6 separate regions of the Homo sapiens genome follow, and regions 1, 2, 3, 5 and 6 are each linked to region 4. Evidence: promoter capture Hi-C in 16 types of primary human blood cells and fetal thymus (Javierre and others, 2016). All regions are on one chromosome and are shown on one strand. The core of a region is centred on a gene start or on the middle of the fragment in contact, and the rest is flanking DNA. Distances in the headings are between cores, read along the strand shown. Region 1 has its middle 22 kb from the start of MIR548AP. Region 2 holds the start of LINC02883 (long intergenic non-protein coding RNA 2883). Region 3 overlaps AKAP13 (A-kinase anchoring protein 13). Region 4 holds the start of AEN (apoptosis enhancing nuclease). Region 5 overlaps KLHL25 (kelch like family member 25). Region 6 has its middle 41 kb from the start of MIR548AP.

What was found. Contacts are between HindIII fragments. The CHiCAGO score rates a contact against its expected background, and 5 or more counts as called.
Region 1: a fragment that was not itself captured here is called in contact with the fragment with the promoter of AEN in region 4 in 4 of 17 cell types (endothelial precursors, M0 macrophages, M1 macrophages and 1 more); the score reaches 15.7 in endothelial precursors.
Region 2: a fragment that was not itself captured here is called in contact with the fragment with the promoter of AEN in region 4 in 1 of 17 cell types (M1 macrophages); the score reaches 5.6 in M1 macrophages.
Region 3: a contact is called between a fragment that was not itself captured here and the fragment with the promoter of AEN in region 4, in 1 of 17 cell types (non-activated CD4 T cells). The highest score is 6.5, in non-activated CD4 T cells.
Region 5: a contact is called between a fragment that was not itself captured here and the fragment with the promoter of AEN in region 4, in 1 of 17 cell types (M2 macrophages). The highest score is 5.2, in M2 macrophages.
Region 6: a contact is called between a fragment that was not itself captured here and the fragment with the promoter of AEN in region 4, in 1 of 17 cell types (endothelial precursors). The highest score is 5.8, in endothelial precursors.

The regions. Positions count from the first base shown.
Region 1 is chr15:85,845,857-85,849,908 of GRCh38, reverse strand. No RefSeq gene overlaps it. Among named protein-coding and RNA genes, the nearest start is that of MIR548AP, 22 kb to the right of the region's middle. The HindIII fragment of the contact is 657 bases long and covers 2,142-2,798 here.
Region 2 is chr15:85,754,906-85,759,590 of GRCh38, reverse strand. LINC02883 (long intergenic non-protein coding RNA 2883) reads left to right here and starts at 866. Exons shown (of 6, transcript NR_120366.1): 1 at 866-1,080; 2 at 1,243-1,340; 3 at 1,602-1,707; 4 at 3,635-3,769; 5 at 3,936-4,073; 6 at 4,350-4,650. KLHL25 (kelch like family member 25) reads left to right here. Exons shown (of 3, transcript NM_022480.4): 3 at 1-265. The HindIII fragment of the contact is 1,562 bases long and covers 2,115-3,676 here.
Region 3 is chr15:85,687,757-85,692,426 of GRCh38, reverse strand. The region is part of intron 16 of AKAP13 (A-kinase anchoring protein 13); the gene reads right to left. Among named protein-coding and RNA genes, the nearest start is that of LINC02883, 69 kb to the left of the region's middle. RefSeq lists enhancers at 638-727, 878-927, 4,521-4,670. The HindIII fragment of the contact is 1,815 bases long and covers 1,545-3,359 here.
Region 4 is chr15:88,618,822-88,623,273 of GRCh38, reverse strand. AEN (apoptosis enhancing nuclease) reads right to left here and starts at 1,934. Exons shown (of 4, transcript NM_022767.4): 1 at 1,892-1,934. RefSeq lists enhancers at 1-403, 1,890-2,049, 1,379-2,052, 2,053-2,726 and a silencer at 1,680-1,869. The HindIII fragment of the contact is 13,176 bases long and covers 1-4,452 here.
Region 5 is chr15:85,772,004-85,776,566 of GRCh38, reverse strand. The region is part of intron 1 of KLHL25 (kelch like family member 25); the gene reads left to right. Among named protein-coding and RNA genes, the nearest start is that of MIR1276, 3.7 kb to the right of the region's middle. The HindIII fragment of the contact is 6,438 bases long and covers 1-4,563 here.
Region 6 is chr15:85,864,655-85,868,929 of GRCh38, reverse strand. No RefSeq gene overlaps it. Among named protein-coding and RNA genes, the nearest start is that of MIR548AP, 41 kb to the right of the region's middle. The HindIII fragment of the contact is 2,596 bases long and covers 645-3,240 here.

The DNA.
Region 1 (4,052 bases), core at 1,221-3,720, 2.8 Mb after region 4:
GAACTCTATTTGCTGCACATCACGTGAATGCAAATCCGTATGATTGGTTCAGAGTTTGTTCAGCATGGATCTCCTCTCCATTTTTGAAGACATGCACAGCACAAAACCAAATATATATTTGATACACTGAAAGCATGTGGTAGATTTTAATGGAAATGGTTACCCCTTGGCAAAGAAACAAAGTATGGAGGAGGTCGGTCAGTCTGCAACACTGCCCTCACCACCACCCCAACAGGGGAAGGACTCCTTGGAGGCATCCACTCCACTCCACTCCATAGTCTGCCAGAGGGACTCGGCTGTGACCTACAGTGAGCACCAAGGACCGCCACCTGGTGCTACTAGCAAAGGTTTGGAGAAGGAAGTTCAAGCTCTCTGAATTCCCTTCAGTTCAGCAAGCCCTCTTAAGAACCTACTTCAGCCGGGCGCGGTGGCTCACGCCTGTAATTCCAGCACTTTGGGAGGCCAAGGCAGGTGGATCACCTGAAGTCAGGAGTTCAAGACTAGCCTGGCCAACATGATGAAACCCCATCTCTACTAAAAATACAAAAATTAGCCAAGTATGGTGGCAGGTGCCCCAAATCCCAGCTGCTCGGGAGGATGAGGCAAGAGAATCGCTTGAACCCAGAGACAGAGGTTGCAGTGAGCTGAGATTGTGCCATTGTACTCCAGCCTGGGTGACAGAGCAAGACTCTGTCTCAAAAAAAAAAAAAAAAGAACCTACTTCATGCTCAGCCTTGTGCTAAGCAGGGAGGATGAAAAATAAAGTTCTGGCTTGGCCATGATGGCAGAATAGTTTTGGTAGGCAGGATAACGACCCTCAAACATATCCACATCCTAACATCCCAAACCTGTGCATGTGTTATCTTATATGGCAAAAGATTTTTGTAGATGTGATTAAATTAAGGATCCTGGGATAAGGAAGGTCATTCTGGATCATCCTAGTGGGCCCAGTGAATCAAAATAGTTGTCCAGGGTGGCAGGAGTTCATGGGCTGAGTAAGGTGTGCTGTATTTGTAACAAAGGGATTAACGAAACTGAGCACATCAACAATGATCGAATGTGCAAATACCAGAAATTAAAGACACTACAAATTCCTGTCCTATCTTGGAACATTTTGTGGCTTGAATTGCCAGATGGGAGTTAATGACTTATAATTAATGGAAGGTCAAATCAACTGACTTGTATAATCAACAAACTTACAAACTCCCATTTTACCATGTTGAGGCAGTTTGGTGTGTTAGAAAGAGCCAGGGGTCTGGATCACCTGGTAATTTACTATGTGCATTTTGGCAAATCACTTAAATTCACTAGATCTCTGTTTGCTCATGTGTAAAATGAGAATAATGCCACCTCATCAACCTGAGTAAATTACCTGGCCCTGAGCCCAACAATAGGGACCTATTATTGAAGATCTGTGTTAATATGGCAATAATGATAGGGTCTATGCAATACTAAAGTGTCTGACTGAAAAAAGAATAATTAAGATAACCCTTATAATACATTAGCCACCACAATATCAATGGTGTCCCTATGTGGAAACATTCATAGATCTGGTGATAAGATATGTACGACAGCTATTGCAAATGACTGTGAGTAAGACTTAGAAAGGGCACGGAAGGGACAGGTACCCCTCAGACACCAGTGCCCCGGGATGATAAAGAATCAAACACAAGGCATCCATGGGGTCACTTTACAGGTAATGCATCTTTAAGAGAAGAGATCTAGGTCTGAACAGCTGAGCTGACATTCTGGGTATCCTGCACCCACCATGGCAAAATTTCAAAGCTTCTTGCAAAAAAAAAAAAAAAATTATTAGACATCCAGACTCCCCTTTTGTTTCCCACCTTTTTGTACTCTTCATGTAGTAGACAGCCTGATCCCAGGTGGGAAATTATCTTTGAACTCTCACTTTTCCATGCTATCACTTTCCCATATTATCACAATAACTCAGGAGTCTGTATTCAGTGGGGGTGTAAGTGGATTAGATGGAGAAAGAGAGACTTGGAGCAGAAAGAAGACAGAATGTGATGCTCAAGTGTTGGAATAAAATTCCTCTTTACAGTTACTCTAAGGAGCTGTTTCTATGCATTTCCAGTAAGCTTAATGATCAGTTTCCACAGCATCAATCATGTTGAGAAGCTTCATTATAAAACAGCCAAAGCATTATTCATAGTCACTCTGATGATAATATGATCATATTATGGGAATAATATTAAAGCACAGAAAAATAAGAAAAATGGGTAAGGATTGGGTTGGAAAGGTACTACTCTGGGAAATATAGAGCTAGTTATCATCTGGAGCACCCATCACAGGCTTTACATGTTTAGAAAGAATCGCAAGATTTCAAGTCTGCTTGTAGAGAAATACTCAGTGTCACATTTTACAACCCAGTGTGCTCCTTTAATAAAACACATTATTTAATATTGTATCTCAACGTGATTCATTCTACTATGAGTAGTTAATATTCTTCCCAGGTGCTGAAGAACCAGAAAGTCTGGAGCTGAAAATTCGAGGGTCAGGCCAGTTTAATCCCCTTTTGTTCTCAAATCAGTGATAAATAGATTACCAGAAATATTCTCAGGGACTGAGACAGACAGGCTGGACGACATAGAGAATTTATTTCAAATCCAGCTTCTGTGAATCCAGATGTCCATTCATCTCCTATGCAAAATGCTGCCGGAATCATCTGCTGACTTGTAAATGTCCATTTCCAGTCATAGAGCTCTCCCACATTAGCTTTGGGATCATGACCCAGGGAGCTGTTTAAATATCAGTCCAGCAACCTGCACTGTTAAGCTTTTTTTTTTTCCTAATCTTTTGAATTTTATTAAGACTTATTTTATCACCCAGCATATGGTCTAACTTGGTAAATATTCCAGGTGCATTTGAAAAGAATGTGTATTCTGTTCTTGGGTATAATCTCCTATAAATGGCAATTAGGTCCAGGTAACTGATAGTATTTACATATTCTATATTCTTACTGATGCCTTTGTCTAATTGTTCTATTAATTACTGAAAAAGGGATGTTAAAAATATTCAACCAGGATCGTTGACTTGCCTAGTTGTCCCTTTAATCTTCTCAGTTTGTGTTTCATACATTTGGAAGTTCTGTCATTGGTCACATATGCATATAGAAGGGGTGTATGTTCCTGCTGATTTGGTTCTTTTATTATTATAAAATAATCTGTATTGTATCTCATAATACTCCTTGCCTTGAGGTCTATTTTGTCTAATATTGTTATAATCACACCAGCTTTCTTATACTTACTATTTTCATGGTATGTACTTTTCCATTCTTTTACTTTTAAACTATCTGTGTCTTTACATTAGAAGGGTGTCCTTATAGGCACACTTTATAGAGCATAAAGACGGGAATTGCTTTTTTATTCAGCCTGATAATCTCTGTCTTTTAATTGTTATGTTTTGTCCTTTTACATTTAATGCAAATGTTGATATGTTGGTCTATCATTTTATTATTTGTTTTCTATTTGTCCTATCTCTTTTTTGTTCCTCTGTTCCTTCTTTTCTACTGTCCTTTGGGTTAATCAAACTTTTTTAGTATTCTATTTTAACTCCTCTATTGGCTTTTGAGTCACTTGCGACATTATCGTTTCATTAACCTCGCCTAGTCCTTTCTACCACTATTGTCATTATGGTACATCTACATACATTATAAACGCCACTGATTTGAGAAATTGTATTCAGCAATTAATATATAAATAATACATAAAATAATATATGAGTCGTTTGAGTTCCTTATATTCTGATTATTAATTTGTTGTCAGATGAACAATTTGAAAATATATTCTCCCATTTTTGTAGGTTGTCTCTTCACTTTCCTGATTGTTTTCTTTGCGTTTGTGCAGAAGCTTTTATGTTTGATGTGATCCCATTTGTCCATCTTTGCTTTGGTTTCCTGTGTTTGTGAGGTCTTACTCAAGAAATCTTTACCCAGACCAATGTCCTGGAGCATTTCCCCAATGTTTTTGCCTAATAGTTTCATAGTTTCAGGTCTTACATTTAAGTCTTTAATCCATTCTGATTTGATTTTT
Region 2 (4,685 bases), core at 1,646-4,145, 2.9 Mb after region 4:
TCCTTGGACCCTGTAGACCCAGCAGACCCCGCCTGTGTCAGGCCAGCTGCCCGAAGGCACTTGGCTGTGGTCCCAGGGGACGGCTCTGCTGGCACACTCAGGAGCCTGGCCGCGGGGACTGCAGGGAGGGTGCCTGGACCCGTGGGGTTGCTTCATTGAGATAAAGCACACTTATCACATAGCACAAAGGACGTGCCATGGTGCTTTCCCCAAAAGTTGTGTTGCTTTTATCAGTTTTCTAACTTAATAAAAAGAGTTGAGAAAATTCTTTGCCTGCCTTGTGTGCTGGGATCAGTCTTGGAGACATTGCTGGTGGCTGACTTTGGTCTTGTCCCACCAGCCAAGGCTCAAGGCCTGCCTGCTGGCATCTGCCCCTCTCATGAGCTGGGAAGGGGGAACCCACCCAGATGAGAGGTCTCCCCATTCCTGTGCCTCCTGAAGTTGCTTTAGAAGCCATGAAGTTGATTCCGTGGAGAGTCCTGATCCTGTCTGCCCCTCCTGAGAGTGATTCTCTCCTGGAAACTCTGGTAAATAGAAGTTGGGAATGTAATTCCATCCATTCGAAAAGGCAGAACCTCCAGTTGATGCTCCTTTGTCTGAAAATAACCCGAGCGCCATTCAGAGGGGCGAAATGGCTCCAGGAGGCAGCTTCACGGCCGCAGCGCCAGCTCACGGCACCGTTGCGCCCACTGGTTGCACCGTGGGCCCTGGGCTACCTGCCCTCCTTGTGCGTTTTCATAGTCACCATGAACCTCATGAGCTCAAGCGTATGCTCACGGGTAAACATCGTGTTCTGTGTTTTGTGATCTCACCTTCAGGCGCCCCTCAGACAGCGGGCAGCCCGAGAAGGTCATGCCGTGGCGCAGCCTGCGTGCAGGGTGGCTCTGCTGTGAACAGGAACCCGGAGGTGCCCCAGCACGGTGGCTCTCAGCAGTGGCTTCCGTGGTGCTCAGTGGTGTGCTGGCCCACAAAATCCAAATAGCGCCTTCACAGTGTAAGAAGTGCTTCTGATGCTGGCGTAGGGGCATGACGCCAGATTCCTTAGAAAATGGAATGATCTTGAGCGGGTGTGTCTCAGAGGTGAGTATGGTGCGTGTAGAAGAGCCAAGAGCACAGAGGGCCTCGTCCCTCCCCCTGCCCAGAGGTGCAGCCCTGGGAGGGGCATCCTGGGACTCTGCCTCGCACTGTCTGCTCCTGTAGCAGTGGTGGGGACCACAGGTGAACGCTACCACTTCCACACAGGCCTGAGCGCTTCACTCTGGGCATCCAAAGCCAGGAGTTGGCTCCAGCTAGAGTCCAGACAGCAGCAGAGGTGAAGTTCCCTGTCACACAGTCACAGGGTGAGTGTGAGCCAGCTGTGGCCCACAGGGCTCCAACTCTCTCCCCCTCTCTCCCTCTCTCTCCAACTCCCACCCCCTCTCTCCCTGCCCTGCCGTCTTCCATGCAAGGCAGCGGTTTCCTGGTCCACCCTGGCCTTCGCAGCCCCGGCCATCCCATCTGCATTCCAGCCAGTGGAAAGGGGAGGAGAGAAAGTGATGGGCAAGCCTGTTTTAAGGGCATGTCCCAGAAGTTGCACCATAACTTCTCCATTTTCCCAACAGCTAGAACTCAGTCACATCCACGCCTGACTGCGAGCGGGACTGGAAAGTGCCCCGAGGAAACTCCAGGACTCCAACGCCAAGTAAAGGGAGCGTAGATATTAGACAGGTAGCAGCCTCTTCCTCTACATGCTGGGTCAGGGGTTGGAAGGAACCTGGGCACACCGCCCTGCCTCCCGCTTCTCTGGGAGCATGCAGAGCCGTCATCTGCCAAGATCCTGGCTCTTGTCAAACCCTTCTTGTCAAGCAGTTGTCAAGCCCACTGGCCAGTGCTTTGCATAACTACCTCCTTTAACCCTCACAGTGACCCCCGGAGGTAGACATTCTTGTCCTCTTCTTGCTGATGAAGAAATGGGTCCACAGGTCACAGTAACTTGCCCAATGTCTCATGCTGGAAAGAGGAGGAGGAGGAGGAGGAAAAAACACGGTTGCAACTGACAGAATGTGGATTTGGAGCTAGGCCCACCTGAGTTTGGGTTCAAGCTCTCACGTGTGGCTCTCATGTATGTGCAAGCTTGGTTAAACCACTTGATTCTCTGATACAGACTTAATGATAGTAGGGTTAAAAGTTGAGGTCAAATTCTATAAAGCACTAAACACCAGGACCAATGCCCAGATAGCCCTTTACAGGGGGAGAATGGCCGCCACATTACAGCAGTGGAACTGGGATTTGAAACCAAGCCATATGCTACATTGTGGGGGCTGGGGGCTGGGAGCAGTGTTGCTTCCAGTCATTGCCCAGCAGGCCTAGCTCCATGTTCCTTGGCCTCCCAGGGGTCAGACTGAGTCTGGGATGGGGCTTGGGGAAGGGAGAAGGCGCCTTCCCCATCAGTGATGGGGCAAGGTCTCCCTGGAAACCTCGGTCCCAAGATGGCCAGTGGAGCTTTCCTGGGTTGTGCCTGATGCAGGAAAGAAAACGGGCCATCTTGGAGGCTTTGGCATCCTGAGAGCCTGCCTGGGGGGACTGTCAAGTTGCCAAGGGCAAGGAGAGGGTAGCCAACTGCCTCCTCCACCTGGCTGCTCAGCCAGGTCTCCCTGCCTTCAAAGGACATTTCTTTGGTCAGGAATTGACAAGAATGAGCCCAGAGTCATCCACCCCAAGGGTGTGTGGCAACCATCCCTTGCTCAACACCGAAGGCTGTAGAATCATAGTGGGGAAAGAAGCAACTTCTTCAGAAGCAGTTGTCTAATGAGCACAGCTTGGAAAGAGCCTTGGTTCTTCTGGATCATCACTGGGGGGATATTTCGCAGAGCAAGAAACTTGCATGCCCCGTCCATCATGTCCCAGCCCCGGCCCCAGGCCCAGCCCCGATGGATCTGCCCGGCCTCTCTCCTTCAGGAGGTGGGAATGGTCTCTTCCAACTTGAAGAGGCCATGAAGGTGATCGGCCCCCCAGCTGCTCTTCTTCCCTCAGGCCCAACCCTACCTGACCTGCAGCTTGGCCCGCCCATGGCACCTGCAGAGGTTCAGGCCCTGCCCAGGGAGCCAGGGTGATTTGGGTGAATTTCCCAGAACGGGCACAGTATTGTCCTGCATCTTCCCTTGCCTTGTTGGGCTTTGGGATGTGGCTCTGCCTCATTAAAGGTCAAGGAAAAGCCTAGAATAGGCCGGAGGCTTCTTAACTTGGGATTTGGGATCAAATTCAGGGGGTCCATGCACTTGGGTGGGAGAAGAATGACACCTTTGTTTTCACTAACCTCTGACTGAGGTTAGTGATCAAGTGATCCGCCCACCTCGGCCTCCCAAAGTGCTGGGATTACAGGTGAGAGCCACCTTGCCTAGCCCCAGTCACTGTTGAGGTCACCATTTTAAAGCTGAGGAAACATGCTCAGCATGGCAGCAGAAGCTCTGGCAGTTTCTGTGTGTCTGGCCCCAGCTGCCCAGGCCCCCTGAACCTGAGGGGCCTTGCTCTGGCCCTGGGGTTGGCCTGGGTTTGGCACCTGGCGCTCGGGCCCCTGAGGGCTTGCAGTAGGGGAGCAGTGGCTTTTTTGAGTTGAATTTAGTAGGGCTGGACTCCTTTCCTGTCCTTTCTGCAGGTAAAGGAGATGAGCAGCGTTGCTCTGGTACGCAGAGAAGCTTCCAGACACTCCTGGGTTGCACGATAGATTAAGTAATTCTACTGATGGGCACCAGCTCCATGCCAGGACCCAGGGCTCCAAAGCCATTTCCAGGTAGACTCATCACAGCTTCTCCACTCAGCTTGCAGGGATGGTGGGGAACCAGGGAGGATGGGAGCAAGAGACACATCCTGCCAAGCCCACCCTGTGGTGGCTCTACCAGCGTCGGGACCGCAGAGGGAACAGGATGGCACAGTCTCATCCTGACACGTGCATGCAGGATAAATGCAGGCTCTGAGAGCGAGTGCCACGGATGACTCCTCCATGGCCGCACTTTCTTCACATTGGCTCCTGTGAGCTTCCTCAACGCTTTCGAAGCTGGCCCCGCTTCTGTCCACTCTGCAGAGTGAACGTTGAGGTACTCTGTGTCTCTCATCTGTACAACCCTAACTAGGGCTTCATCCAAGACTGTCGAGGAGCAGGTCCTGTCTCTCCCTCTCTCCATCTCCCCACTTCCCATGGAAAATAGTGAGATTTTTAAAATGGGAGTTGAGGCCATACCGAAAAGCCAGCACTGTTAAATGCAGCTGTGACATTTGCCTGAGAGAGGTGGCCGGGGTGTGGGGGGGCGGGGTTTCAGCTCCCAGTCTGCCCTCCAAGCTGGTGTTGCCAGCTGTGGCTGCCTTTCCTGTAGGCCTGCGAGGTCCCTGCCATGCCTGTCTCCTCCTCCCAGCAGTAGTGTGAGCTCTGCTCCGGGATCAAGGCCAGATCTTTGCAGCCCATGTGCTTGGCTCCCTCAGCTGAGCCTCAGGACGTGGGTCCTCAGTTTGTGCTGTGCAGCGTGAGGGGCCACACTGCAGTCAAGCCAGCTGGGTGCAAACAGCAGCTTTTCTTCTACTTGGTGGCCCTCCTTGGGAAGGTCCCTCTGCTCCTGTAACTTCATTTCCTCATTGATAACAAAGAAAAAAACAGATCATATTGCCTGTTGTAAGGATTGAACTAAATCGGGTAAAGAGGCTACTAGATTTCT
Region 3 (4,670 bases), core at 1,203-3,702, 2.9 Mb after region 4:
TTTCTCATTTGTCAAATGGGAGTAATCACAAAAGTACCCATCTCATATGTTTTTTAAAACATATGACAATTAGGTGAGATAATACATTTCTAAAGCATTTTGCACAGTGCCTGGCACACAGTGAATACACAATAATGCTTAGCAATATTATTAATTACTCATAATTTACTGGAAATGAGTTTCATTAGCTCATTATTCTCCTAAGCCAACACAGAAAGGTATTGCTTGCAGTAAGGGAAAGGAAGTTTTGATGTGAGCAGGGAAGATAGAAGAAATTGGGGAGTGGCTAAAGGACAACGGTGCAGGGCAGGGAGGATAGGAGAATGCACGGATGACAGGAAGGAGCCTTGTTAATAATTTTTCTCAAAAACCACCTTTGTTGTTCCTCAAGCTAGATACCAACAGGGTCACTTCCTTTAAAAAAATGGGGTTCCAGGGAAAGGAAGTCCCAAGGCTTAGTAGCTCACTCCTCTACCCTGAGTACCTAGGGGTGCAGGAAGGCAGGAAAAGCAGGCAGTGTCCCTAGGTTGGAAAGATAAGCTTCCTACGCCGTGCTCTCTGACCTCTTTTGTGAAGCTCCTTTCTTTCCTGTGGTCTTCCCTCACTTGTCAGAGTGGCAACAGAAACTGATACTCATCTTGTGCTTCCTGTGTGCCCAGCCACTGCCCAGGTGCTTCTACTTACTGAGCAGGCCAAAACCGGGCTAGGTACAAAGCACAGGGGACACCAGCAAATGAGACATGAGACTGGGTGAACAGTGGGGGCACTGGGCTGAGAGTCAGGAGCTCTAAGTGCCAGATTAAGTTGGCCATGTCACCTTAAGAATACTGCAGGAATGTCAGAAATGTTCTAGAGACAGACTGAAAGCAGAGGACTCATATGACATCAAGCCTCAATCTAAGAGAGGCTGTTGTCAAAGCTTACACAGTCATGAAGAGGAACGGAAAGGAATTCAAACACTGAAAACTTGAAGAACTACTGATGAGTGGTGGGTCCTTAATGAAATATCTAAAGCAGTCAGGGACATTTCAGGTGGACACCATCCTTAGGAGGCCAGGACCATGGGGATATAACCATGCTCTCCATAAAAGGTCCTTTAGAAGCACTGTTTGGCAGAGTACTTGGCTGGCTTATCAGTATCAATGAAATAATTTCCTTTCAAACCAACTGGACTACAAAGACCTACCATTCACAAGGTAAGAGGTTTTACCTATTGTCAATACCATTGTTATGTCCTAAAAAAATTCCAGGAAAATGGGTGTCCCAAGTCAGTGATCATGACAACTACTAAATGCCTTAACATTTTGAATCAATGTCTTCTACATACATCATTTCGTCTGACTCAATAACTCTGAAGTGGGCAGGGTGAGCATTATGCTTCCCATTTTACAACGTAGAGGATAAAGATAATAAATAACAGCTAAAAATCTGAACAGTTACTACGTGCTAAGCACTGTAGTAAGCAATTTACATGTATTTTCTCACAACAACCCAATGATAATACTAGGTATTATCTCCATTTTACATCTGAAGAGATTGAAGCTTAGAGATGTTTAATAATGCATTTGAGGCCACACGCCAATAACTGCTCAAGCTGAAATTAAGATTCAGATCTGGCTGACTGTAAAGCTCAGCTCTCATACACTGCACTATGCTGCCAGGGACTGGAGAGGTTGGTTGACTTGCAAAAGGTCACACAACAGATGATCAGCACAGTCAAAATGGGAACCCAGGTCTTCTGACTTTCTGTTCAGAACCCAACCACTGTAATGAAATGGTAAATAATTGCTAGATCTATGATTCATGTGAAGTCTTTTGTTAATCAAATACATATAATGAACATCTAAGAGCCAAATTACTACACTTTTGAACTATAAAAAATAATGAGAGAGGAAGGGAGAAAAACTCCTTCACTTTACAAAACAGGAAGCTGTTCTGAGTGAAAATTGGTAATCACTAAAGTACATAAAACTTTAGTAATAATCAACAACTAAATTTGGGTTTTTTCAAATAATTTCTTTCTTTTAACTAAATTTTGCTAAAGGTTTTTCCATGCATAAAATGTTAAATGGAAAAGCATCTGATTTTTTTGCTCAGGAAAGTTAAATTATACTTCAATCGTTTAAAAAATCTTTTTATGGCAACCAGCTTATCCTCTCAAGCCTTGCAATGCTCTTCAAACCTGAATAAATAAGAAATAGCTTCCCTTTGCAACAATCCAAATTAGTTCTTCCCAGGATGGAAACAAAACAAAACAACCAACTCCACTGGCTCTTTCTGTGTTTACTAGAATTTAGTGCTTTAAAGAAGTCAGGCTCTTACCTCCCCATGCTTTGGTCCTATGAATCTCACTGTTATGTGGGGTACTTCATGAAACCGAGCCCATTTTATCGACATGATTCGACCCCCATGCCAGGAAGCGTGCTCTCACAGAAGCGGGGGCGCATGCCGTCAGGGCAGAGCTCAGCAGCTTTGAGCTGCCATTAGTGAAATCGTAAGAGGAAGCCAGAGACTGGCTGAGAAAGGGAAGGAGGGAGGGCTGAGGCTGCTTGTTTCCTTAAGACAGTCTTAACTGTTTGAATGCTGCTGCTAAAGCCAACAACCCTTGTTACAAAGGATACAGGAAATGAAACGAGACCTCACTCCCCCCAAAAACAGTGTGTGTGGACAGTGCTTAAGCAGCAATATAAGAACTCTAGCAAGGTTTGAGGCCAAGTTTTTACACGGGAAGTTAAGGAACACATCTTACCTATTTTAAAATAGACTCCTCATTTTGTAAAATGCAGTGAGTTTCATAAGAAAACTTTTCAGTGAAGTTGCCTGGTGTAAAGTGGTGACTAGTTATTTTCTGAAGTTTGACTTTTCCATGTTTAACAACTGGCAAAATGCTTTAGCTGTGTGCTGGAGAAACAGGCTAACGGTATTTAACAGGGATAGATGCAGGTAACAACTGCACTAGGACACTATCAAAGGTGATTCTTCACTTTTCCAAAAATACCCCTTTATACATGTAATTACAATAAAAAGAACACTCTGGACAACTGTGAAAACATGATATGATCAAACAACTGTCATGTTACAGATCTTTAATCAAAGAAGGAATGAGAATTACATTTAAAATTAAGTCTTTGTAAACACTACTCTAGGAGGCACTTCTGAAAGGCCTATGGGTACAGCTCTTTTTTATACAGACCACAGGACCTAGGAGCTGTAACTGAATGTCCTGTTACAAAGTCATGTAGTATACTTGCAGCTGTGCAGGAATTTAACCTGTGCACTCAAAAATACCTACTTCAAATCAAATAGATTTGTCTAAAACATTTCTAACCACCTCTTGTTTGTCTACAAAGAGGAAAGCTTAGTATTAGGTTGGTGCAAAAGTAACTGTGGTTTAGAAAAAAGAAAACCAGTGTGATAGGATGGTTTGAAGAGGGTCATTCCACACTCCCTTTGTGAACTCGAACACCATGCATATGAGTGTTTAAATACTCTGTAACACGCAAAATTACTTAGCAGGAAACAGCACTATCTCTCAAAGATACTAAGACAAAAGCAGAAACTGCCAGTCTTCCTGCTATACTTCCTGTTTAGCATCCCCTCTCATCTTCCACAAACACATTCAATATATTTATCTAATCTAATCACTTATGCCAGTCGGTGATAATTCTCAAAAGGACATAGGATCAAGGACTCAATTTCTTAAGTTTATATACAAAACCCAGTGATCCAGACAAAATATGTTACCCTCCTAGGAATGTGAACAGTTTACTGCCTACTGGCTTTTGGCTTCTTTGGACATGTTTAAGAACTGTTTATCATCACAATTATACAACTGAATGGAATATATCTAGGTTAATCACTATAACCTATTTTCATAAAGATATATATATCATGCAAAAGGAAAGCAGACATTTTCAAATAATCCTTAGACACTTCTCTAAGAGTTACAGGTGGCATTTTAATATTATATTCGGTAGATGCTTAAATTTTTCCTTTAAAAGATGTAGGTCTAGTTTTATTGTATGGTAGATTAATAAAACAATTGGATCAGACGGTCTCTCACAGCATCTATTTAAAAAATAATTTTTAAAAACTGAAAATTTATCATTTTCACAGAAAAATCAGTGTCAATATCCATAGTAGCACTTTCAATTTGTTAACATTATGGAGAAGTAACATTATTCAATAGTTAAGAACAAGATTAGAGTTAGCATCACTATGTTAAGAAAATTTAATATTCATTAATTTTTATGTTACCATTTAGAAAATACAGTACTTCTGCATGGTAAAATGCTATGCAGATACATAGCAGAGTGAGGGTATTTAACACAAAATATACTGCTTTACTATTTCCCCTATTTCTTTCCTCTCTCTCTCTTTTTTTTTTTTTTTTTTAAGAGACAGGGTCTTGCTCCATTGCCCAGGCTGGAGTGCACACAGCGTACTGCAGCCTTGAACTCCTCGGCTCAAGTGATCCTCTTGCCTCAGCCTCCTGAGTAGCTAGGACTACAGGTGTGTGCCACTACGCCCAGCTAATTTTACAATTTTTTTGTAGAGATGAGGTCTCACTATACTGCCCAGGCTGACCTTGAACTCCTGGTCTCAAGTGATCTTCTCATCTCAGCCTCAAAGTACTGAGATTACAGGTGTGTACCACTGTGCCCCACCCC
Region 4 (4,452 bases), core at 685-3,184:
CTTGCTCATCCCATCCTTTCCAGGAGAAAAGGTCTCTCTTTTAAAAAGGTCTTAACTGTAACCAACTTCCTCATATTGACAGTCACATCTTAGAACTGACAAATTCAGAACCTTAATCTGCCTCAGCCCAGCAATGGGAGAAAAAAGCCTAAGAAGCCCAATGCCCACCCTGCTAATAACTAATTTGGGAAAGGGGGCTGGCGGATAGTCCCCTCCTTTCTCTGTGAGGGGCTGAGGCTAGGAGTAGGGTGGGTGGCTTTCCTGATCCTACTGGCAAGGTTTTAAAGAAGCCAGAAATTAAGTTATCTGAGAAAAGGTCTCTGTAGCCTCCTATTTCAAGAGAGGAAAGTAGTCCTTTTCCAAACACCCTGACCTTGCTTAAGAGAAGAGAGAAAGAGACCTCCCCCTCATATTGTTCTGTATTATTTTATACTCAGTACCTGTTTTAAGAAGAAACAAGGAAGCAAAACCAAAGGCAGGCAGCCCGGCGCCACGCACCAGACCCAAAACCAGACCCAAAACCAGGCCTGGGCCTGCCTGACCTTAGCCTGATAGTTAAAATTAAACCCATGACCTAGCAACCGATGTTATCCATAGATTTCAGACATTGTATAGAAGGACACTGTGAAATCTCTTGTTCTGTTCTGTTCTGTTTCACTCTGACTACCGGTGCATGCAGTCCCTGTCACATACCCCCTAGATTGCTCAATCAATCATGGCCCTTTCTTGTAAAATCTTTAGTGTTGTGAGTCCTTAAAAGGGACAGAAACTGTGCACTCAACAAGCTCGGATTTTGAGATGCTAGTCTGCCGATGCTTCCAGCTGATTAAAAGCCAATTCCTTCACTACCTCTGTGGGGTTTTGTCCGCGGCTCCTCCTGCTACATGCTGACACGTCAAAACCAACAGTCATCAAGGACACACCTCTTTGGGGACCCAAATGTAGCTCAGTGAAGCTGGAGAGAAGTTCCGCTCAGATAAAACAACCCTTTCAACAAGGACAAACACAAGCCTTTCTCTAGCCTGGACCCAGCGCTCTGGGGGTCAGACACCCGGCCTTCAGGCAGGGAGGGGGTCTGGCCTAAAGAAAGGGTCCCAGCTGCAGAGTCAATGGAGCAAAGGCCCCAAAGGAACCAAGAAGTCAGAATCCTCGGTGGCATGAGAGCCACCAACCTGCTGGCTGATCAAGAGGGCAGAGGGCAGTTCTAGACCCTCCTCTGGCACTAAGTAGCTAGATGATCTGGGGCAAGTCACGTCTCTTCACCATCAACCGAGGGCTGTGAATTAGATAAGGGCTTCCCAAATGTAGTTAATTACCATATGACATCTGATGAAAGGCTGATTTTCAGGCCCACTCCCACACCGTCCTAATTGCTATTTTGGGGAAAGGGGCCTGAGAATCTAGATTTTTAAAAAGAGCGCGGACGACCCCTACCCTCAAGCCACAATTCTGATAATCGCCCAAACCTGAAAAAACCTGGCTCGATAAGGTCCCCTGTGCTGCTAAAAAGTCCACGGAACAACGACAACAACTAAAGTCTGCTATCCTGGCACGACCTCCCCGCCGGCTGGCGTTCTCCCAGGCGTGACGCGTGGGAGGCCTGATCTCACCGGGAAGGACTCGGGCGTTGGTCACTTGCTGGCCGCGGCAGCTGGGCCGAGTCCCAACGACCAGCGCCGCCCCCTCTGGCCCTGGACCCCCGAGCAGAGCGAGGGCTGGAGACAGGCGGCGCCCGGCCTGCTTTTCTGCGGGCCGGTAGGGCAGGGTCAGCCCAGTTCAGGCGTCCCCGCCGCAGGCCGGGGCGGAAACAACGCGCGGGGACCTGCGACCCGGGACACGCGGCCTCAGCCCGCCCGACCCCGCCGCCCCGGTGCAGGGTCCTGGATCTCACCTGAAGCCCCGCGTGTCTCTTCCGGTCTGCACGTGGCGTCCGGAAAGCCGGCAGCTCCCACATGCCCGGGCAAGCCCGGCTCCGACTGCCCGCCTATTGGCTCGCTGGACGGCAGCGCCCGCCCAAGACCTCTTCTGATTGGTCGAGCCTGCCTGGCAGCGGGGAGGCGGGCGAGAGCAGAAGGGGAGGGACTCCTGAAGAGGGCGTAACTCGTGCTGCGAGCCGGCCATACTGGCGGGAAATTTTAAAGAGAAGGGAAGGGAGACTGACCTCCTGTCGTCCCTGCCCGGTCCCATCAGTGTTCCCCGGCTCCAATCCACTCCTCTACCTGGGTCGGGATGTGGGCTCCTGTAAGCCTGGTACCACCAAAGGCCGAATGACTTACTGAGTACACCCACATCTGCAGATTGGGAACATCGGCCCTTACCTCCTCGGGTGTTCTGGGATTCAAGGAAATAATATACACAGTAGGCACTAAAGAGAGACTTTGAAAGTCAGGTTTCCTCCGTCAGCGCTGCTTTTTCATTTATTCTTTTGCAACACTTGACTCCTAAGTATTAAGTTCCTACGTGGGCTTGGCAGTGGGATGCACACAATAAACACATAAGCATCCTGAGTTGTTTATCTAACAGCAGGGAAACAGCAAGGTTAACAGAAAATTCAGTGCAACATGAGGCCGGGGCGCGGTGGCTCACGACTGTAATCCCAGCACTTTGGGAGGCCGAGGCAGGTGATCACCTGAAGTCAGGAGTTTGAGACCAGCCTGACCAACATGAAACCCCATCTCTCCAAAAATACAAAAATTAGCCGGGCGTTGACGGGAGCCTGTAATCCCAGCTACTCGGGAGGCTGAGGCAGGAGAATCGCTTGAGCCCAGAAGGCGGAGGTTGCAGTGAGCCGAGATCGCGCCATTGCACTCCATCCAGCCTGGGCACCAAGAGCAAAACTCCGTCTCAAAAAAAAAGAAAGAAAGAAAGAAAGAAAATTCAGTGTAACATGAGTAATAACAAGAACAATAATAAACAGTTCACACGTATTATGTGAGCACGAATGATGTGCCAGGCAAAATACTCAGTTAATTTGTACAATGACCTTACTATTATTTCAGTTTTACAGTTAAGGAAATTGACACTTAAATTAAGGAGAAACACCTAGAATCCAAAGATCCTTACCTAAGCAGTCTGACTTCTCTTAGTTCACATTTTGCAAGCAGAAGTGATTTGGAAACGTACCTGTGATGAGAAATAAGCTAGGAGCTCTTTCTGATGGGAGTACAAATTTGAGGGAAGCAGGACAAGGGATGAGGTCACAAGAGAGATCAATCCTTTTACCCAGGCCCCTGAAGGCTTTGGGGAGGCAGAGGGATTTAAGCCATAGATAGTTTACCAGTGAATCTGCATTTGAAAAAACTTGTTCTGGCTGCAGCATAGAGAGGAATGGATGAGGACTGGAGAAAGGAGTGGGGGAGTGTTTGTGGAAATTTGGAAGATCATGATGTCCAGAGTGGTGTGGAGGATAAAGAGCTCCCCACCTAAGTAGCATTTGAAATGACAGATTCAAATGCTACTTAGGAGGCAGCGTTGATCAGAGAGCAGAGGGGAAGGGGTTATAGGACAGCGGTCTTCAGGCATGGGGACTGTGGGAGGTAAATCTGGGGCAAGGAGAGTTTTTTTTGTTTTGTTTGTTTTTGTTTTTGAGATGGAGTCTCACTCTGTCACCCAGGCTGGAATGCAGTGGCACAATCTCGGCTCACTGCAACATGTGCCTCCCGGGTTCAAGTAATTTTCCTGCCTCAGCCTCAGGAACAGCTGGGATTACAGGCACGTGCCACCATGCCCAGCTAATTTTTGTATTTTTAGTAGAGATGGGGTTTCACCATGTTGGTCAGGCTGGTCTCGAACTCCCGACCTCGTGATCCACCCACCTTGGCCTCTCAAAGTGCTGGGATTACAGGCGTGAGCCACCACACCCAACCAAGGAGAGTTTTAAGAGAGTCAATATCCAGATCCTCTGCTTCCATGGTGCTGGGCCTCAGAATATGCCTGGGGTCTTTGGGGTTCAGCTTCCCTCTCCTCATGTGTAACCAGCTGTCTCCCACTTTTCAAAGGCAATTCACACTGCACCTGTTCTAAATCTTGCTCTGCTGCATTACCTTGGGAAATAAAAGTCTCCAGGAGAAACAATAGGGCAATTCTAAATAATGTATTAATTATTGTTGAGGACGGGGCAAGAAATCCTTCTACAAGTCAGGTGGTTTCTCATTCTTTGCTTTCACCAAGATCCAAGGAGGATCTAATCATGTTGTTAGGTCATTAAAAACATTTTCTTGAGACCAAGGCTGGAGGACTGCTTGAGGCCAGGAGTTTGAGACCAGCATGGGCAACATAGCAAGATCCTGTCTTCACAAAAATAAATAAATGTGGAGGTGTGTGCCTACAGTCCCAACTACTGGGGAGGCTGAAGTGGGAGGATCCCTTGAGTCCAGGAGTTAGAGGTTACAGTGAGCTATGATTGAGCCACTGCACTCCAGCCTGGGTGACAGAGCCAGACAGACCCTGTCT
Region 5 (4,563 bases), core at 150-2,649, 2.8 Mb after region 4:
AGTTACAGTTTAAATAACAAGATCTATACAATATTGAATAAATATGCATAAAGGTTTTTTTTGCTATTGATTGATTGATTGAGACGGAGCCTCTCTGTCGCCCAGGCTGGAGTGCAGTGGCACGATCTTGGCTCACTGCAACCTTCACCTCCCAGGTTTGAGCAGTTCTCCTGCCTCAGCCTCCCAAGTAGCTGGGACTACAGGTGCGTGCCACCATGCCCAGCTAATTTTTATACTTTTAGTAGAGATGGGGTTTCACCATATTGGCCAGGCTGGTCTCCAACTCCTGACCTCAGGTGATCTGCCCGCTTCAGCCTCCCAAAATGCTGGGATTACAGGCGTGAACCACTGTGCCCTGCCTGCATTTCTTTCTTTCTTTCTTTTTTTTTTTTTTGAGACAGAGTCTCGCTCTGTCGCCCAGGCTGGAGTGCAGTGGCGTGATCTCGGCCCACTGCAACCTCCATTTGCTGGGTTCAAGCAGTTCTCATGCTATAACCTCCCGAGTAGCTGGGACTACAGGCACACGCCAACATGCCCGGGTAATTTTTTGTATTTTTAGTAGAGACGGGGTTTCACCATGTTGGCCAGGCTGGTCTCGAACTCCACACCTTGTGATCTGCCCACCTCAGCCTCCCAAAGTGCTGGGATTGCAGGTGTGAGCCACCACGCCTGGCCGCTTTTTTTTTTTTTTTTTTTTTTTTTAAACGAGCCATTGAAAGGCAGCAGCCTGGCTGGGCGCCCTCACACATGGTTGCTGCCCCCACAGCCTCTGCAACCCAGGCAGGGGACCTCAGGCCGGGTGGCTGGTGCATCCTACCTGGCTTGTGCTGCCAGCCCTCAGGAGGGGACAGGAGAGCAAGGAGTTCATCTTTCCATCTCCTTTCCTGCCACTGCTTGCTGAACACCTCCGCCTTCCTGAGGAATTAGCAGCTCAAAGTCTGCAGTCAGGCCCAAGTTCCAAGAATGTGGCGTTGAGTCTGTTTCCTTATCAATAAAACGGGAATGATGGAACTCCTGGCAAAGGGACATGCTGAGGTCCTTGCGGCTGTGTGTTTTCATGAAGTCATTGTTGGTGGAATCCTGACTCCGATGCACCCAGTGCATACTTGGTGCCAGGAAGGGCCGTGTCTTGGGTTTCTGTCAGCGTCAGCTCCTGCAGGGTGGCCGTGAATCACTGTGCAGGTTGTTCACTGCATAAGGGCACCCAACCTCATGCAGCCTGAATTTCAGCTGCATTTTCCTCTCTAAGTCTTGTGCTTGGGTCCAGAGCCACATCTGTCAAAAAGCCCAAAAGCCAGGTTTGGCTTTTCCGAGTTTCCAAAGGTGCTTTCCTGCTAACCCAGAGACTGGTACACTGCAGGTACACTGGCAAACCTAAAATAATCGCCCTGGCCGGGCGCAGTGGCTCATGCCTGTAATCCCAGCACTTTGGGAGGCTAAGACGGGCAGATCACCTGAGGTCAGGAGTTCAAGACCAGCCTGGCCAACATGGTGAAACCTCGTCTCTAGTAAAAATACAAAAATTAGCCGGGTGTGGTGGCGGGCGCCTGTAATCCCAGCTACTCGGGAGGCTGAGGCAGGAGAATTGCTTGAACCTGGGAGTCGGAGGTTGCAGTGAGCTGAGATCGCGCCATTGCACTCCAGCCTGGGAGACAGAGCAAGACTCCGTCTCAAAAAAAAAAAAAAGAAAAGAAAAAAAGAATCGCACTGCGGGAGTGGGGAGGGGTTTTCATTTTGTACCAGGGGGCCATACGGATTGGCTTGGCCCTGAGCTCCAGAGATAATTTGAGCTGTTCATGCCTGGGTACTACGCAGGCTGAGCGCTGTGCCTCTCTCGTTTCCCCATCCTGTAGTGAAGAATGATGGAGCTGACACCCTCGTTTTGAGCCTTGCTAACTCTTGGTTAGTGGAGGCGGGTGGGAAGGGGTTAGTGCTGTAGCCATACTAAGTCAGGCCTTCCTGAGACTGGCACGGAAAAAGCAGCTTTGATGGCATCCGGGTTCCTATTTCTCTCAGGATAGGCCTTTCGCTTTCGGTCACTGGAATCTTCTGTGAGTGTGGCAAGTTTTCTTCAGAAAGTCTCACCCCTTGGCTAGTTTGTTTCTTTGTGCATTTAACTTTCCAAAGATGTGCTGGAGAAGGATGCTGGGCACATTGTTACCCGGTACATTTTAGCTGAGTCTGTAGGTGAGGATTGCCTGGGGAGCAGCGATGTCCAAGGTGGATCCACCCCTCGTAGCAGGATGAAGAGTTGCTGATCTGTGGCATTGCAACATTGTGCAGTTACGCTATGTGCCTTAAATCCATCAAAGCTCAGGACGACGCTTAGGTCATGAGAACAATTCTGTGATATGTGCAGAGCGAGAGTGTCTGATTGATTATGGCTCCAAAGACGTGAGCCATGGGCACAGGGAGGCTTCCCGGGGCCTGCTTTTGGGCCCTCTCACATGCTCCCCACCCCCCGCCGCTGGGAGCCTCTGGCTTGGGCTGCTTTTGCATCCCCAGGCCCTGCTATGAGGCTGGGTATGTCACTGGTACTGAACACATATATCTTGAGCAACTGAAAATAATCACACACAACCATTCTTCTGGTTGCTAGATGGAAGGGGTGGAGGGACACATAGCTAAGACCCCTTACCGAGACAAGCAGCCCCTGGTCACCAATTCAGGGCACTGATGACCCTGTGAGTCCTTAAGTGACAGGCCTCAGCAAAAGGGGGCGGACCAGAGGACCACAGGGCTCCACTTGGCCCTCTGCGCAGGCTTCCATCTTGGGTAGGTGGCAACACGGCTGTCACCCCTTCCCACTCCCAGCCCTGGTCCAGTCCGGTCAGCAGTCCTAGGGAAAGGGCCTGCTTCGTTCCTCAAAGTTCCAGTGAACATCTTAGTATAGAGTCCCACTGGTCTGTCCTGGGTGTAGGCCCCATCACAGCAGTTCGGAGGATGACACTAGCTCATCAGCCAGGCCTGGCACGTGTCCACTCCCCACCTGATCCCCAGGGCCCAGTGATGTGCAGCACCTGGGGCCCAGTGCCCACCCCGGGATGCCACCCGCTGAGCTGCCTGGAGGCAGGTGGTTCCCAGAGAACAGTCAGGGTGTGAGTGCGAGGAGGAGGCGGCATTGTGCTGGTGTGAGTAAAATGACACGCGTTTACCACATGTCAGGTGTCGCAGCCGCCTGGGCAGCATTCACCACTGCCTCGGCCTTCCTCTCCTCTGGGTCTTGACAGTGGCTGGGCTGGCAGTCATGGTGGAGTTGATATGAATGAGTTTCGTGTGCTGTGTCTCAGGGCTTCATCATGGGCATAGGAAGAGATGGACAGGTCCATGCCATCAAGTCAAGTGACCTCTGTGCCGGGATCTGTCCTGGGTGTTGAGGTCACATCAGTGAGCCCCACACATGGTCCCTGCCTTTCTGGGCCTCCTGTGCAGTTTGGGAGACAGTACACAAATAACATGCCCAGAAGCTGTGTGGGCCTCAGCATCCTTGCCTGTAAAGTGGGGCTCCAGTGCCTCACTTGGGATCAGGCTGAGTCGGTGAGTGAGTGGCTGCCATCAGTGGAAGATTGGCTCAGGGGCAGGCGCTGCCCAGAAGGAGATGGGACAAACCGGGGAAACAACTAGGCAGGTGCTTCCGCCCTTGGCACAGAGGTGCCCCAGGCTGGCGGCTGTCTAGGGGGTGGGAACCTGCCTGGGCGTGTACATGAGTTGCCAGCATCTGCATCAGCAGGCAGGCATTCTTGGTGCCGACTTTGGCAGGGTATCTGTCAGCTCTGGGACCCTGGGTTGCCGCTCACTGTTGGCTTGGAGAGGTCACTGCTCTGCCTCCTTCTCTGGACCATTGTGGCTGCCCTGTTTCAATTTGCCCTGCTTTTTGGCTTTCTCGGTCTTTTGAGTCTTGCTTTGTCCTGCCCATAACCCCCTCCAAAGGGAGTCTCTGCCTGGGTACTCTCGCAGGCAGCCCAGTTAACACAGTGCCCCAGAGTGGAGTTAGTTCTAGGTGTGTTGGTTCCAGGGCCGTAGTTACTAAGGTGAGGAGCTGGGATTCCAGCTGGGGCTGTCTGTAAGAAGAATCCCAGAGGGGCTCACCCCACACTTGGAGTGTCCAAGCCCAGGCATTCAAGCTGCCGTTCAGCCCAAGCTCAGAACCAGCCTCCCCTCTGGCAGGGCCAGGGTGGGGCAGGGGGCAGGTGCGATGAGGTGCCTAGGGACCTAGAGCAGGGAGGTCCTTGGAAGCACAAGTGTGTTGACAATGGAACTGAAGCCAAACCTCAGCATCAGGGCCCTTGAACGTGACCTCAGTGGAGAGGGCATGGGCTTAGGAGTCCCAGGGCTCGAACTAGAATTCTTCCTGGTCCTTGGCTCTCCACGTTTCCCCCAGCACGGTCTGCAGACCAGAGGCAACAAATGCCTCTTAAAATGTCCTGACACTGTGGGGTGGGGCAGGAGGGGACAGAGCCACATTTGGGAAATTGTCTGATCACCAAGGGGGTGGTCTGGAGTGAGGAAACTGGAGTGAGAGTTTAGCAATCACAGCAAGATTTGGGGAAATGTCGCAGGGTC
Region 6 (4,275 bases), core at 693-3,192, 2.8 Mb after region 4:
CCTGGCCAACATGGTGAAACCCCGTCTCTACTAAAAATACAAAATTAGCCAGGCATGGTGGCACACACCTGTAAATTCCAGCTACTCCAGAGGCTGAAGCAGGAGAATCACTTAGAACCTGGGAGGCAGAGGTTGCAGTGAGCTGAGATCGCACCACTGTACTCCAGTCTGGGCAACAGAGGGAGATTCTGTCTCAAAAAAAAAAGAAGAAAGAAAAAATACTACAAAGTTTTAATAACCCAAACAGCATGGTACTGGCATAAAAACAGACACACAGACAAATAGAACAAAATAGAGAACCCAGAAATTAATCCAGGTATCTACAGCCAACTGATTTTTGACAAAGAAATCAAGAACACTCACTGGGGAAAGGACAGTCTCTTCAATAAATGGTGCTAGGAAAACTGGATATCCATATGCAGAAGAATGAAACTAGACCCCTATCTCTCACCATATGCAAAAATCAACTGAAGATGGATCAAAGACCTAAATGTAAGACCCCAAACTGTAAAACTACCAGAAGAAAACATAGGGGAAATGCTTCAGGACACTGATCTGGGAAAAGATTTTATGAAGAAGACCTCAAAAGCATAGGCAACAAGAACAAAAATAAATAAATGAGATTACATCAAACCTAAAAAGCTTCTGCACAGCAAAGGAAATGATCAGCAGAGTGAGAAGACAACCTACGGAACTGGAGAAAATATTTGCAAATTATTCATTTGACAGGGGATTAATATCCAGAATATATGAGGAACTCTAATATCTCAACAGTGAAAAAAATCCAATTAAAAAATGGGCAAAAAGGCCAGGCATCATGGCTCATGCCAGTAATTCCAGCACTTCAGGAGGCTGAGGCCAGAGGATCACATGAGCCCAGGAGTTTGAGACCAGCCTGGGCAATGTGGCAGGCTATCTCGACCAAAAATACAAAAATTAGCTGGGTATGGTCAGTGACCAGGGTTGTGGGGATAGGAGGCCCTGAGGTGGGAGGATCACCTGAACCTGGGAGGTCAAGGCTGTAGTGCTCCTTGATCATGCTGCTGCACTCTAGCCTGGGTGACAAAGACAGACTGTCTCAAACAAACAAACAAAGCAGTGGGGGTGGACTGGAGGAGAAGCAAATGATCTCAACAGATTTTTCTCAAAAGAAGAAATACAAATGGCCAACAAATAAATGAAAAAATGTTCAATATCACTAATCATCAGGGAAATGCAAATCAAAACCACAGTGAGGTATCATCTCACCCAGTTAGAGTGTAAAGTGGCTATCATCAGAAAGACAAAAAATAACGAATGCCGGTGAAGATATGGAGAAAAGGGAGCTCATCTACCATTGATGGGATTGTAAATTAGTACAGCCACTATGGAGGAAGTGTGGAGGCTTCTCAAGAAACTACAAATAGAACTACTGTAAGTTCTGCAATTCCACTATTGGGCAGTTTTCCAAAGGAAAGGAAATCAGTATATTGAAGAGACTTTGCACTCCCACGTTTATTGCAGCGCTATTCACTATAGCCCAGATATGAAACCAATCTAGGTGTCCAACAAAGATGAATGAAGAAAATGTGGTGTATATGCACAAAGGAATACTATCCAGTCATAAAAAAGAATGAAATCCTGTTTTCGCAGCAACATGGATGGAACTGGAGGACATTATGTTAAATAAAATAAGCCAGGAACAGGAAGTTAAACACCACATGTTCTCATTCATATGGAAGCTAAAAACAGTTGCTCTCATAGAAGTAAAAAGTAAAACAGAAGATGCTAAAGGCTGGGAAGTATAGAGGGCAGGGAGGAATAGGGAGAGATTTGTTACAGGATACAAAATCACACCTAGATGAGGAGAATAAGTTGCAGTGTTCTATAGCACTGTAGGATGACCATAATTAACAATAAGATACTAGATATTAATAGTTTCGGGTAACTAGAAGGAGGATGTTGTACGTTCCCAACACAAAGAAGTGATAAGTGTTTGAGATGGTGAGTGTGCTAACTACCCTGATCACTATATATTATGTGTATTGCAGCTTCACTATCAACCTCATAATTATGTACAATTATTATGCCAATTTAAAATTTTTTTATTTTAAATTTTTTTTAATTTTAATGTTGAAAAAGAAGTTAGACAGCAGCCAGACCATGCAGGGCTGTGAAGGCATGGCAAGGAGTTTGGAAGCTATTCTGGGCATGGTGGGAAGCCATAGGAAGGTTTTGAGCAAAGGCATGGCCTCATCTGACTAACACTTTCAGAGCATCTCTCTGGCTGCTGCAGGGAGCGTACAGACCAGCGAGTCAAGGGAGGAGGTGGGGTGGCCGTTCAGGATTGCTGCAGGCGCAGGACAAGAATGAGTTCTCTGCCCGAGGTCTGATACCTTAGCTAGGTGTTCAAATTTAGCATCGTCAGTAATGGGACCACATGACATCATGTGCCGCCTGAAGTGATGTAACAGGAAGGATGCCAGATTGCCCTGGTAGTATTCTTGCCAAGATACTTAACCTGGATTAATAATCCAGAATCAGTAAGACAAATCCAGAGTGCTGGGCATTCTACAAAACACATGAACCGGACTGTTGAGAAATGTCAATGTCATAAAAGATCAAAAGCGGAGGAGGAGAGCTCTACAAAAAAGGTGACATGACAACTACATGAGGGTGTGATACTCAAATGGACTCTGTAGCAGGGGATTGAAAATTACTATAGGCCAGGCGAGGTGGCTCACACCTGTAATCCCAGCACTTTGGGAGGCCGCGGCAGTCGGATCATTGGAGGTCAGGAGTTCAAGAACAGCCTAGCTGACATGGTGAAACCCCATCTGTACTACAAATACAAAAAAATTAGCCAGGTGTGGTGGCACACGCCTGTAATCCCTGCTACTTGGGAGGTAGAGGCTGCAGTGAGCTGAGATCACACCACTGCACTCCAGCCTCTGCCACAGAGTGAGACTCCATCTCAAAGAAGGAAGGAAAGAAAGACAGAGAGAAAGAAAGGAAGGAAGGAAGGAAGGAAGGAAGGAAGGAATGAAGGAAGGAAGGAAGGGAAAGAAAGAAAATTATTGTAAAGAACATTGCTGGGACCGTTGGGGCAATTTAAATGTGATTATAAATTAAGTAATGTATCAATGTTAAGGTTCTTGGATATGGTGATGTTGTGGTTATATAAAGAAATGTCTTTATTCTTAGAAGACGTGTTGAATTATTGAGAGGTAAAGTGTCAGGGTGTCTGCAACTATCAAAGCTTTCATCCAGAGGAAGAGAGAGAAAGATGAAATAAATGTGGCTAAATGTGATAATTTGATGAATCCCAGTGAAGACCAAGAAGATGTTCATCTTCCAGCTTTTCTATAGGTTTGAAACTTTTCAGAGTGAAAAGTTGGGAGGATGGAAAAAGAAGTAAATAAATAAATGAATCAATTGAGTCAACAATTGAGATTCCTTTTCCCTAAGACCTTTATAAGCAGTTTGCTCACATTGATTCTGATGTGGACAGTTCTGGATGTAAAGGGGGCAGGCCTAGAATGAATGATCTTTCCTGGCGTCTTCCAGATTGCAGATGTACGTTTGGTTTGGTTTGGTTTGGTTTTTAATTTGGGAATTACAAAAGCAGCAGGGACCCTGTGCGAAGCTTGAGCGGCTGCTGCCATCTTGTGGATCTCAGCACTTCTGCAAAGTTGGAAACATATTCCAGGTCACTGCAGGCTAAGGAGCCCCCCTCCACAGCCTGGGAAGGAATGCCCTGGAGGTTAAAGGTGTAAGTACTTTTGTTAACTTCCTTCCAGAGTGAGTGACGATGCAGCCTACATCCTTCAGTGGGTTCTCTGGATGCACAGGGTCCTCCGCCTTTAAAGTCAGCAGGCCTGACAAAACTTGCATCGATTTCACTCTGCAAAATTCAGGCTAGGGAGCCATTGAGTGGGAATTTACTGACATTTGCACGCAATATTGACTTGTTGGCATTGTTTTCTTATTCATGAAGTCTCATAAAAATGATACTGGGCACTTCTGATACCAGCTTTTCAAACCTCTAATTGGTTCACAGACAAAGCTTTGAAAGCAGGTGTGGGAGGGTCACGATCAGAGACAGTGAGAAAGAGGAGGGAGTGGACTACCTTAGAAGGAGAGCGGGAGGAGGAGCCAGAAAAAAAACTAGCTTCTAGATTTTCTTTGCAGGCAGGGTGGATGTGGTAAGAAGCTCTGAGGACTTTCAGGCTAGGTGGACTTGGGTTTGCATTTCAGCACTGAGGTGCCACTTTCTGCTTGGGGCAGCTTAGACAT